Linked DNA regions of Homo sapiens: regions 2, 3 and 4 are each linked to region 1. The links are contacts of gene promoters, found by promoter capture Hi-C in human tissues and cell types (Jung and others, 2019). All regions are on one chromosome and are shown on one strand. Each heading gives the region's core, a stretch centred on a gene start or on the middle of the fragment in contact. The rest is flanking DNA. Distances are from core to core; before and after follow the strand shown.

Evidence for each region. The method cuts DNA at HindIII sites, captures the fragments that hold promoters and counts their contacts. A contact is called where the count stands out against the background at its distance.
Region 2: the fragment with the promoter of DBF4B here is called in contact with a fragment that was not itself captured in region 1 in 2 of the 25 tissues and cell types used here (dorsolateral prefrontal cortex and hippocampus).
Region 3: a contact is called between the fragment with the promoter of CCDC43 here and a fragment that was not itself captured in region 1, in 1 of the 25 tissues and cell types used here (dorsolateral prefrontal cortex).
Region 4: the fragment with the promoter of ITGA2B here is called in contact with a fragment that was not itself captured in region 1 in 1 of the 25 tissues and cell types used here (spleen).

What each region holds. Positions count from the first base shown.
Region 1 is chr17:43,383,265-43,386,440 of GRCh38, reverse strand. All of the region lies in intron 1 of LINC00910 (long intergenic non-protein coding RNA 910), which reads left to right. Among named protein-coding and RNA genes, the nearest start is that of LINC00910, 4.0 kb to the left of the region's middle. The HindIII fragment of the contact is 7,633 bases long and covers 1-3,176 here.
Region 2 is chr17:44,707,065-44,710,240 of GRCh38, reverse strand. DBF4B (DBF4B-CDC7 kinase regulatory subunit) reads right to left here and starts at 1,576. Exons shown (of 14, transcript NM_145663.3): 1 at 1,402-1,576; 2 at 875-937. The coding sequence starts at 1,420. RefSeq lists enhancers at 742-1,255, 1,256-1,770. The HindIII fragment of the contact is 13,873 bases long and covers 1-3,176 here.
Region 3 is chr17:44,688,279-44,691,454 of GRCh38, reverse strand. It overlaps CCDC43 (coiled-coil domain containing 43), which reads left to right and starts at 1,679. Exons shown (of 5, transcript NM_144609.3): 1 at 1,679-1,905. The coding sequence starts at 1,702. LOC105371792 (a long non-coding RNA gene) reads right to left here. Exons shown (of 4, transcript XR_007065769.1): 3 at 3,162-3,176; 4 at 2,442-2,514. LOC124904010 (a long non-coding RNA gene) reads right to left here and starts at 1,674. Exons shown (of 2, transcript XR_007065770.1): 1 at 1,601-1,674; 2 at 1,145-1,460. RefSeq lists enhancers at 1,549-1,688, 1,357-1,946. The HindIII fragment of the contact is 3,238 bases long and covers 1-3,176 here.
Region 4 is chr17:44,388,011-44,391,186 of GRCh38, reverse strand. It overlaps ITGA2B (integrin subunit alpha 2b), which reads left to right and starts at 1,538. Exons shown (of 30, transcript NM_000419.5): 1 at 1,538-1,901. The coding sequence starts at 1,714. RefSeq lists an enhancer at 1,322-1,381. The HindIII fragment of the contact is 17,139 bases long and covers 278-3,176 here.

The DNA of each region.
Region 1 (3,176 bases), core at 449-2,948:
GTGTATCCTTTACGGGATCAGCCACCGGCAGTTGCCTTGCAACCATGATGACAAATCTCTCCCAGCTTTTTTGGGTCTCATCCCTGTATCTATAAATTGCATCCCAGCATAAAGATCAGAATGTGTCTTTTGCTGACCCAATCTCTCACCCTTTCCAAACTCCAGAAATCTTGTCTGGCCTTGGCAAAACTACCCGCTGCTTCTTTCTCTAAAGGATATCTTCAGTCCGGGCACTGTGGCTCATGCCTGTAATCCCAGCACTTTGGGAGGCCCAGGTGGGAGGATGGCTTGAGCCCAGGAGGCCACAGTGAGGTGAGATCACGCCATTACACTCCAGCCTAGGCGGCAAAGCCAGAGCCCCATCTCGAAACAAACGAACGAACAAACAAAGCACAAAAGAAACAGCCTAGGCAAGGTAGTGAAGCCCTGTTCAGGGTGACGAATATCTGTACAACAGCTATTTCAGAGGCTGAGGCAGGAGGATCAGTTGAGTCTGGGAGGTGGATGCTCCAGTGAGCCGTGATTGCACCACTGCACTCCAGCCTTGGTGACAGAGCCAGACCCTGTCTCAAATAAATAAAAATTAAAATTAAAGGAAAGAAAGCGTGGAAGCAGAAGTGGGTCCCATTGAACTTCAAGCCTTCAAGCTACAGCTGTGGCTGGACAGGTTGAACTAGCAGGCAGGAGCAGTCACCATCTTGGCAGGGATTAATGGCCCTGAACCATCATCAGGAAGAGGGAGTAGTGCTCTTATGCAGGGAGGGCAGGTGGAATATATGTGAACTCTGGTGATCTGTTTGGGTGCCACGTGTTACTCCCAGGTCCACCTGTGACATGAATGGACAAGTGCAGGAACCCTGACTTGAGAAAGATGTGGCCTTGAGGGGTTTAGACTTTTCAGGAATGAGAGTTTGGGTCACGGTAGCCAGGGAAACCACCAGGATTAACAGAGTTGATAGCTGAGAAGGAGGGGGGATTTGGAGGGGAGAGGACAGGAGGCACTGGTTGAGTACCAGGGGCAGCCTTGTGACCAAATGCACCAAGAGGGGCTGTCGTTTGACTCACTAACTTTCTGTAGCTCTATGCAGTACAAAAGAGCAGGAGATGAAAGAATGGCAAGTAGATTGGGAGCCGGAAAATAACTGGAATGAACCCACACATTCCTGATTGACATTGACAGTAATATACAGGTACAGGCAGGCAGAGGCGTTTTCTCTTCAACTGATTTTGAAATCATTCTCTCTGTTAGAGTACACAGCTATCTGAAGGTACACAGTGACCATCAACATTTACCAAGCTTTGGGCAAATGTTAAGTGTCATTGTTGTTGGTTTAATTTGATATTGTTCTCTATTGAATAATGTGCACAACAAATTTCTGGATTTTTATTAAAAGAGCATCTCCTGTGCTACATGCAAATATACAATCTGAGAAATTCTGACCCTGGCTATTAAAGTATAAAAAGGTTTCCTTGTCTCAGAACAATGTTAGAACAGACATCAACTCACTGCTTCTAGAAGAGCAGCCACTCCTTGATTTCACAAACTCAATAAACAGTCTCAGTTGTTGTTTAGTATCATTAGGAACTATTTTGACAGAGGTTTCTAGATCATGTCACAATGACATCAGATATCAAAGAAATGTGTAACAGGTTTGGTTATATGCAATGGCTACCCTCAACCCCCCAAGTTCCTGTCCAGTCAAATTCCCTCTGACCTGCTGTCTGCATCTGCCTCTCCAGAAACAGGGCAGACACAGGATTGTCAAACGTGCTTGCTTCCATGCTCTCTCCCTAATGGTGACATGGACTCTGTTCTCAATAAGCACCTCCCACCCCGCCCAAAGGTCCCTATCACCTCTCCCTGGCTCTGGGTCCACTTCTCTGTACCTTGGACATGGGCATAACATGTTGCCCATGAGGCACAGGATGAGTAGCAGGGGCAGCCCTGTGACCAGCTGCAGCAAGAGGGAGTGCTGTTTGGCTCACGACCCTTATGCAGCTCTATGCAGTACAAAAGAGCAGGGGAGAGAAGAATGGCAAGTGGAAGGGGAGGCAGAAAATAACCAGAACAAATGCACATATATGATCGTGGCCTTGGGTTTTCATTTCCTTGTGAGGGCTCCCGTGTCATGTAAAACTTACATTGACAGCTTTTATGATAGCTTTCCTCCTGCTAATCTATGTCAGTTTGAGTCTCAGGCCCAGCAAGGACCCTAAGGAGATAAAGTTTTGCCTCCCCTACACAGTCATTGCCCACTCCCACCCTCATCTTGAGTTAACCACTGATCTACTTTATGTCTAGAGTTCCCGTTCCTGGCATTTCATATGAAAGGAATTACACAGTATGTGGTCTTTTGTGTCTGACTGATGTCTTTCTCTGAGCATAATGTTTCTGAGGTTCATCCCCATTGTGACATGTGCCATTATGTTGTACCATTATGTTTTTATTCCTGAATATCACATTTTGTTTATCCGTTCACCCACTGATGGACGTTTGAGTAGTTTTCAGTTCAAAGCTATTCGAATAATTCTGCTCTAAACATTTGCCTCTAAGTCTTTATAAGGACATACGTTGTCATTTCTCTCGGCCTGCCTGCTCATTACACATTGGTGTTCCTGTGATTCTGAAACATGTACTCTTCTCTTACACAAAGTAGTATCTCCGTGTCATCTCTCCCAGTCCATGGCTACTGGGGACCACCTGTATACCTCACCCTGATCATAGAAACAGAAGTCCAGTCTCTCTATGTTTTCAAAGGCCTCCAAGATTTTCAACTCTTTCTCTCTTTCTCTTTCTTTTTCTCTTTTTCTTTTTCTTTCTTTTTTTCTTTCTTTCTCTCTCTCCCTCTCTCTCTCTCTCCCTCTCTCTCTCTCTCTCTCTCTCCCTCTCTCTCTCTTTCTTTTTTTTTTCAAGTCTCGCTCTGTGGCCCGTGGTGGAGGGCAGTGGCATGACCATGGCTCACAACCTCGACCTCCCCAGCTCAAGTGACCCTCCACCTCAGCCTCCTGAGTAGCTGGGACTACAGGAGCATGCCACCATGCCTAGTTTCATATGTGCTTGCTTCCATCCTCTGCCCCTAATGGTGCCACGTACTCTGTTCTCAGTAAGCACCCCTGGCCCATGGGTCTTTAGACTTAGCCTTGCTCACACGGATTTGCCATCTCCCTTCAGGCCT
Region 2 (3,176 bases), core at 327-2,826, 1.3 Mb before region 1:
CAAGCCGATGGCATATCTGTTAACAATCCAGAAGTAAAAGTAGACGGTATTTTTTTTTTCTTTTTTTTGAGACGGAGTCTCGCTCGGTCGCCCAGGTTGGAGTGCAGTGGCGCAATCTCGGCTCGCTGCAACCTCCGCCTCCTGGGTTCAATCAATTTTCCTGCCTCAGCCTCCTGAGTAGCTGGGACTACAGGCACGCCTCACCACGCCCGCCTAATTTTTTGTATTTTTAGTAGAGATGGGGTTTCACTGTGTTAGCCAGGATGGTCTCAATCTCCTGACCTCGTGATCCGCCCGCCTTGGCCTCCCAAAGTGCTGGGATTACAGGCGTGAGCAGCCGCGCCCGGCCAACTAGATGATATTAACTAAAGGGGCAGTACGGAGGGAAGTGCCATGTGCTAAAATACTTACCTAATTAGGTAGCAGTGTTTAACTTAAGGATTTTATTGTAAACAACTATGAATGTATTAATTTATATATTTAATAAGTCACTCTATCCTGACTCCACATCTGTCTGTTAATCTTGTTCATAATATGACTCTTACTTGACCTTTATCATGAATCCCAAAACGGTCTATGATGCTGCGTCCATACACACACACACATAAAACCACTAAGTGGGCCTGGTGAAGTGGCTCACACCTGTAATCCCAGCATTTTGGGAGGCCTAGGCAGGAGAACTGCTTGAGGCCAGGAGTTTGAGACCAGCTTGGCCAACACAGCAAGACCCCATCCCAATAAATAAAATGAATAAATAAGTACATAAAAACACTGAGTGATCGAAAACTCCAACAGGGGGAACATTTTTCGGTCTTCTCCAAGAGACCCTGGGGCAATTTTCACCTCACGTCCCTAGTTCTGTCCTGTTACCCACCTAGGTCCGGGGCCCGGAGCCTACTCTCAGCCATGGAACTCTCCAGCTCGAGGCAATCGTCTCCTGAGAAAGGACATAACAGCAACTCAACCATCTTCACCAACCCTTGGAACTTCCATGCCTCCCGCCCACTACTGTCTCCCAAAACGCGCACAGAAACGCGACTCCTGGGAACAGCAAGACTCAACTCCATTCCGACCTACATCCCGCGACTCCCGCCAGGCTCTTGCCCCTCATGCCCTCCGCCTCCTTTCAGACTCCGTTCAGTCAACGGCCGTGACCTCTTGGCCACCTCCTGTCCATCTCAATCTCCATACATCCCTCCAGGCTGTTGTCCCCTACGTTCCTCTGCCACCTTCATTCCTCGGTCCCCTCAACTCCTGTGGCTCCTTCCCGGCCCCTATACCCTCCTCAGCTTCGGCACCTACCCGCTGGTCACTTCCTAAGCCCCCTCCACGACTCCGCACCTCGCCTCAGCTATTAACGACCCCTTCCGCCTTTCTTTCTCCCCTTCCCGGCATCCGTACCCTTTCCCGGTTCGCTCATCAAATGCCGGCTCCTTCTCGGCCTCCGTACTCCTTCCTCAGAGGCCTCCGTATTACATTCGCGAGCTCCATGAGCTCTTCCCGATTCCACAGTCCTGGTTATCTCAGGGCAGCTACAGCATCAATCTCTTGGCGTTTTCGGCCGCGGCTTCAGTTTAAATTTCCTGCCGGCTCCACCCCTAAAAGAACGCCGTAGCTGCGAGATCCGCCCTACGGTGTCCTTGGAAGGACAATATTAGTTTCGCGATTCCTCTTTCCGTTCCCCCACCGCCTACGTCTTCTCAAACCGTCTCTTCATTTCTTGGCTCTTCACTGGCTAGACGGCTTTGCCCCTTAATGGCCCTCAAGTTGAGGACTAGTGGTCGCTTTTTAGTGATTCTTCACACTGAGCTGCATTGAAATTCCTAGAAGTTTGAATACTAAATAACAAAATAAGCCTAACACTTGCAGAGCATTTGCAGTTTACATAAAGATTTCACTTACACATCATTTCATCTTCACATTTTTGTCCCCCTCCCGTTCTTCAATTATTACCTGCCCAACAAAACTTCTCAAAAGACGTATCTTTATCCCTCACTTCCCATCTTTTCTTCAACCCATCTAATTAGACTGCTAATTAGAGATCAAATTTGATCTAATAAGAGATCATTCAGTGGAGAGCTGGGGACCTCCCCACAAAAACTGTACTTATCCAGGTCAACTGTGATTTCCACAGTCTGAAATACTATCCTTATCATATCCAACTTATAGATGGACTATTCCTTCTTTGAAATACTTTCTTCTTTTTGCTTCCATGACTCAGCACTCTACCGTTTTTTTCCCTATCTCAATGGTTCCTCCTCAGTCCCCTTTGCTGGATCCAAAGCCACTGTTCACCTATATATTTTGGAGTATGCCAACGCTTTAGCCCTTATCCCTCTCCCTTATCTCCCTAGGAGATCTCATCCAGCTCCACAGCTTTACAATTCAGCTCTGCCACACCTTCAGATTTTCTGTAGCTCTGACCTGTCTGATCTCCAGACTCACATATTCAAGTGCCTACTGGCTATTTCAATTTGGATGTCTAATAGGCACCTCAGGCTGAACACATTCAAAACAGAACATTTGTTTCGCTGCCCCTGTCAAAAAACCACCTGTTCTCCCCCCAGGTCTTCCCCTCTCAGTAAAATGTTACTGTTTACTCAAATGTCACAATCATTCACCCAGTTGCTCAAACCAAAAACCTAGAAGTTGTCTTTCAGTACTTTCCCTTGTGCCCATCCCCACTCCAAGAAAAAAATCCTACTAACTCTGCCTCCAAAGTACATCTGGAATCAGACCACCACCACCCTAGTTCAAGCTGCTATCATTTCTTGCCTAAAGTACTGCGGTCAATTCTTCACTTCTACTCCCGAGTAGCTTCCTATCTCTCCCCAGTATAATCCATTCTCCATTCAGCAACCAGAGTGATAGTTTTTATATTTATTTATTTTTTTATTGAGAGGGAGTCTCGCTCTGTCGCCCAGGCTGGAGTGCAGTGGCGCAATCTTGGCTCACTGCAACCTTTGCCTCCCGGGTTCAGGCCATTCTCCTGCCTCAGCCTCCCGAGTAGCTGGGATTACAGGTGCCTGCCACCATGCCCGGCTAATTTTTGTATTTTAGTAGAGTCGGGGTTTCACCAGGTTGGCCAGGCTGGTCTCGAACTCCTGACCTCAGGTGATTCATCCGCCTCGGCCTCCCAAAGTGCTGAGATTACAGGTGTGAGCCACCGCGCCTGG
Region 3 (3,176 bases), core at 430-2,929, 1.3 Mb before region 1:
AGCTCCATTAAAACATTTATATCACTATATTGTCATCATTTGTTTAAACATGTCTGTTCCTAATGGATTAAAAACCCCTGAGGACATATATTTTGTGACATTCATTTTTGTGTTTTCAGTGCCAGCAACAATGCCATACTGAAGGTACTCAGTACATATTTGAGGAAGGAGTTAGCCAGGACCTTGCCAGCTTCCTCTGCACTTCAGCTAAAGCCAACCAAATTCTTGGGTAATTCATTCCAGCCCAGAGCCAGGTGTTTTGACGTCAGCTGAAGCTCTCATAACTCTGCCAAAGAAGAGTTCTTGCCACTGGTTAGGCGCCCTCTAGTTGTGTGACTCTCTCCATATCTGTCTCCTTATCTTTAGTGATTTTGTTTGTTCGTTTGTTTGTTTGTTTTTGAGATGGAGTCTCACTGTCGCTCAGGCTGGAGTGCAGCGGCGCGATCTTGGCTCACTGCAACCTCCGCCTTCCGGGTTCCAGCGATTCTGAGTAGCTGGGATTACAGGCCCGCGCCACCACACCTGGCTTTTGTTGTTGTTGTTGTTTGTTTTGAGACGGAATTTCGCTCTTGTTGCCCAGGCTGGAGTGCAATGGCACGATCTCTGCTCACCGCAACCTCCGCCTCCTGGGTTCAAGCGATTCTCCTGCCTCAGCCTCCCACGTAGCTGGGATTACAGGCATGTCCCACCACGCCCGGCTAATTTTGTATTTTTAGTAGAGACGGGGGTTCTCCATTTTGGTCAGGCTAGTCTCGAACTCCAGACCTCAGGTGAGCTGCCCACTTTGGCCTTCCAAAGTGCTGGGATTACGGGAGTGAGCCACCGTGCCCGGCCTTATTTTTGTATTTTTACTAGAGACGGGGTTTCACCATGTCGGCCAGGCTGGTCTCGAACTCCTGACCTCAGGTGATCCACCCGCCTCGGCTTCCCAAACTGTTGGGATTACAGGCGTGAGACATGGCGCCCGGCCTGTCTCCTTATCTTTAAAATGTGGACAATAAAAGCATCTCCCCACAGGGCTGTAGGGAGGATTACAAGAGATAATGCATGAAAAGCTTTTGGCACAGTGCCTAGCAGAGGGTGGGGTACGCTTCTCAAAGAATAGTCCCGTGCACGCGTTGAATCAATGAGTGGAAGAAATAACTTGAGGTTGCCTGTTTATTTACTGAGTGCCTACCATGGAATCAGGGAAGGTTTTCTGCAACCTTTACTTTGACAGGGAAGGGCTTGTACAGGTGAAGGTGGTAGCCGTCGGTAGCGACGACGAGGGTATTCCAGGCTGTCAGGAGGTTCTTGCCAGACAGCTGTGTGGGAGTGGGCGGCCAGCATCCCCCGAAAGCGCGGGGAAGGCAGCTCGGTCGGGTGGAGGAAGCGATGGCATCCACGCTGAGCTCCAGTCCTGGGTAGTTATTAGCCGCGTGACTTTGGCCAAATTACTGCACCTCTCTCAACTTCCCGAACTGTAGAATGAGTCTGTTAAGAATACTCACATGCCAAGCATCTTGTGAGATCACGCGACCGCACGTATGCGAAGACGCGCTTCATCTAGAAAGCACAAAACTCTCAAGCCGGCCGACACGGCTGCGCTCTTTGCACTTACGGGCCTGGGCTTCCTCTTCAGGCATGCGCGGTGGACCTGCGGCGCGGCCCGTCAGGCACTGCGGTAGGCGCCCTAGGGGCTTGCAGGACCCTGACCCCAAGATGGCGGCGCCCAGCGAAGTGGCCGCGATAGCCCCTGGCGAAGGCGATGGCGGAGGCGGCGGCTTTGGCTCCTGGCTGGACGGACGGTTGGAGGCACTGGGAGTGGACCGAGCCGTTTATGGAGCCTACATCTTGGGTATCCTGCAGGAGGAGGAGGAAGAAGAGAAGCTGGACGCTCTGCAGGGGATCCTCTCTGCTTTCCTGGTGAGTAGCCTGGACACATTCCTTCAGCCTCTGGCCAGCATCTGAGGACCTGTCAGTACTTTGCACCCTCCCTCCCCTACCGGGTATCCCAGAGGCTCAGTGGTCTCACCTGGGAGAGGTATACTCCTCTGATATCTGGGCGGCGGGGGAAGGAGGTTGCTCCCCAACCAGGTGTGGGAAGCCTGAAAGCTGCAGGTACACAGAGAGGAAGGGCTTTCTCGTATTCTTGGGGACAAGGCCCTCTCCGATGCTTGTGAGTGAGCCGAGGAGGGTTCTTCCGAAGGCATTGAAATGTCAGAATGGGAATGTTATCATAAATATCTGACGACCAATTCCATTTCCATCCGTTTACAGTGTTCACTGGGGGTATTAAAATGCTCTTGGGAGGTCTGTGCCTATTACAAGGCAGTTCCCAGGGCTGTCCCATGACAGAAGCCTGCAGGAAGTGCCCTTTTGATTCTTATATGGATGTAGGAGTCCATAAAAGGTAAGCTGGTGGTAGAAGTCTTTTCATGCCCACGCAGAACTGAAGCAAACGTCGTGCTTGATCCATTACAGTATTTACAGTAATCATTGGTGGTGGGAAGGAGGGTATGAGAGAGATCAGAGCTTTAACGAAGAGAGAGAAACTTAGTCCTTAGCCTGTTAGAAGCAAGGTATTCAGAAATGTGTACTTTAAGCTATGTTTACATAGTAAGTCACCCAGATGTCCACTTTTTCAACCTGATCATTTCTGCTGCCTTCATCTTCACTTCCCACACCTCCAACATACACACTTATTAGACTGGTTATTACAGATTAAATTGGTTGTAGGTGCTACCTGTGGCTGTCTAACAAATTGTTTCCTTTTAAATACAAGCTTAAAAATAAAATTTACTTGAATCATCACTAAATGCTGTAGAAGCTAGAGTTGTCTCTGCATTCATGGATTAGAGGAGATCCTGGATACCTGATTGCTACTGTGAGAGCCACCTGTCTGTCCATCAAAGGCTTTATCCTCTGGCATTTATTACAATGGACAGGTTAGAAAAATGGGTTCTTTGTTATTCTCAAAACCAATTTTGAAAGGCTAGTAATAGAATCAAAATGTACCATGAGGTGGGGCACAGTGGCTCATGTTTGTAATCTCACCACTTTGGGAGGCTGAGGTGGGAGGATTGCTTGAGGCCAAGAGTTCCACACCACACTGGGCAACATAGCAAGACCCTGTCTCTACAAAAAAATTTAAAAAATTAGCCAGGTATGGTGGCGCATACCTGTAGTCCCAGCTA
Region 4 (3,176 bases), core at 289-2,788, 1.0 Mb before region 1:
TGCCTCAGCCTCCCAAAGTGCTGGGATTACAGGCATGAGCCACTATACCTGGCCTAATGGTTATCTTTGTATCCTTTATCAACACAGTGCCTTGAACAGAGTAAATACTTATTGAAAACTTGAGTGAAATGTAAGTTCATATTTGGCCTCACAGAATACACCAGTAATACAGCAATCACTCACCTGAGGACAGTGGGAGGATAGAAGGTAAGTAGAGGACTGGGTTAAGTATTCGTTCAAGCAAATACATTAATTACACGCCTCCCATGTACTTGACACTGGGAACTCAGCAATGAAGAAGGCCCAGACCAAAGTTCAGGCTTTTAGCTTCCTGTCCTATAAAGGATAAGATTCTTAACTCTAGGCTGAGGTAGTAAATTACGAGGGGACTTCAAAATGGTACAGGGTGGTTGAGCAGGATACGGCAATGGTTAAGTTTGATCAGAAAATAGAAATCAAAAGGAAAATGTGGCTATGGTTACCCCTAGCGGACCTCTTAAATCTTCCTGAGAACCTGCTTTTTTGGGAAGGCATGAGTGCCAGTAAGACTTGGCACTCCTCCTCTTCCGCTTACCGAGAGAAAATGACTTTGCCTTTCTGCTCAAAACTCATCCCTTCACTTTGTCACCCTATGTTTGCATCTTCCATCCTTAGTGTGTGTTTCCATCCAGTCTTTCAGCAATACACGTACTACACATTGGACTCTTGGGTAGTCTCTAGGGCTGTAGCAAGGAGCCTTGCTCCCAAGGGACTCATTTACACAATCCTGTGAACGGACCAAGAGTAAACAGTGTGCTCAATGCTGTGCCTACGTGTGTTAGCCCACGCGGCCAGCCTGAGGAGTCAGGGAAGGCTCCCCTAGGCAAAGCCCCCAACCAGAATCAAGTCTTAATGGTTAAAGAGCTCCATCACCCAAAAAGGATTGAGGGCCTACCTTCAACTGAACAGCTAATGCATAATCTCAGAAACTGTGAGTCAAAATTCCCTGGAATAACTCCACTTTATCCCCAATCTCCTTGCCACCTAGACCAAGGTCCATTCACCACCCTGTCCCCAGCACTGACTGCACTGCTGTGGCCACACTAAAGCTTGGCTCAAGACGGAGGAGGAGTGAGGAAGCTGCTGCACCAATATGGCTGGTTGAGGCCGCCCAAGGTCCTAGAAGGAGGAAGTGGGTAAATGCCATATCCAAAAAGATACAGAAGCCTCAGGTTTTATCGGGGGCAGCAGCTTCCTTCTCCTTCCCCGACCTGTGGCCAAGTCACAAAGCACCACAGCTGTACAGCCAGATGGGGGAAGGGAGGAGATTAGAACTGTAGGCTAGAGTAGACAAGTATGGACCAGTTCACAATCACGCTATCCCAAGCAGAAAGTGATGGTGGCTTGGACTAGCACGGTGGTAGTAGAGATGGGGTAAAGATTCAAGAGACATCATTGATAGGCAGAACCAATAGGACATGGTAATAAACTATTCTCAGGAAAGGGGAGGAGTCATGGCTTTCAGCCATGAGCATCCACCCTCTGGGTGGCCTCACCCACTTCCTGGCAATTCTAGCCACCATGAGTCCAGGGGCTATAGCCCTTTGCTCTGCCCGTTGCTCAGCAAGTTACTTGGGGTTCCAGTTTGATAAGAAAAGACTTCCTGTGGAGGAATCTGAAGGGAAGGAGGAGGAGCTGGCCCATTCCTGCCTGGGAGGTTGTGGAAGAAGGAAGATGGCCAGAGCTTTGTGTCCACTGCAAGCCCTCTGGCTTCTGGAGTGGGTGCTGCTGCTCTTGGGACCTTGTGCTGCCCCTCCAGCCTGGGCCTTGAACCTGGACCCAGTGCAGCTCACCTTCTATGCAGGCCCCAATGGCAGCCAGTTTGGATTTTCACTGGACTTCCACAAGGACAGCCATGGGAGGTGAGCCGTAAGGGAAGTTGGGGTATTGGGAGAGAGCAGGACCCCTCCCCATCACTGCTTCTGGGGGCTTCGAGTTTCCCATTTGCGATAGCAGTTGAGCAAGGTGACTTGTGGGGCCTATTCAGGTTGATTTCTTGTCAAGAATGTTGGGGTCCAGGGGACTGGCTCAGGTGAAGGTATAAGGGCAGGGCACATGTGGGCTGATGGGCACTGAAAACTACAGCAAGAACAAAGGGAAGACAAGAGTTGATGCTTTATTTTTTCCCCAAGGGTCAGTTGTATGAACCACTCCACCCTCAACACCTTGAAATGCAGAGAGGAGGCCGGGCGCGGTGGCTCATGCCTGTAATCCCAGCACTTTGGGAGGCCGAGGCGGGCAGATCACCTGAGGTCGAGAATTCGAGACCAGCCTGACCAACATGGAGAAACCCCGTCTCTACTAAAAATACAAAAAAAAAAAAAAAAAAGAGACCAGGCACAGTGGCTCACACCTGCAATCCCAGCACTTTGGGAGGCAGAGGTGGGCAGATCATGAGGTCAGGAGTTCAAGACCAGCCTGGCCAATATGGTGAAACCCTGTCTCTATTAAAAATACAAAAATTAGCTGAGCGTGGTGGCACACTCCTGTAGTCCCAGCTACTCGGGAGGCTGAGGTAGGAGAATCACTTGAACCCGGGAGGTGGAGGTTGCAGTGAGCTGAGATCATGCCACTGCACTCCAGCCTGGGTGACAGAGTGACACTCCGTCTCAAAAAAAAAAAAATTAGCCGGGCGTGGTGCCGCATGCTTGTAATCCCAGCTACTCGGGAGGCTGAGGCAGGAGAATCGTTTGAACCTGAGAGGCAGAGGTTGTGGTGAGCCGAGATCATGCCATTGCACTCCAGCCTGGGCAACGAGAGCGAAACTCTGTCTCAAAAAAAAAAAAAAAAAAAAAAGAAAGGAAATGTGGAGAGGAGCACATGTCCTAAATTGATTTGCAGAACTAAAGTTGTCTACCCTCCCGCACCTTGCATTTCTGTTCCATTTCCCTCATCTCCATCAACATTATAAATATTTGAAAAGAAGCAATAGGTCATTAATGATTAGTATTGATCAGGCTTCAGAATCAAGAGTGCCAAGATTAGAGTCTTGGCTCCTCCTCTTCATAGCGTGTACCCTGAGCTACTATTGTGAGAGACACTGTGCCCACCAGCTTCAGGGAGTGGCAATGGGTGGCAATGGCAGATAGCCTTCAAGTGTCAGCCACTTAGGGGATTTCCTCTGCTGAAGAGAGCCA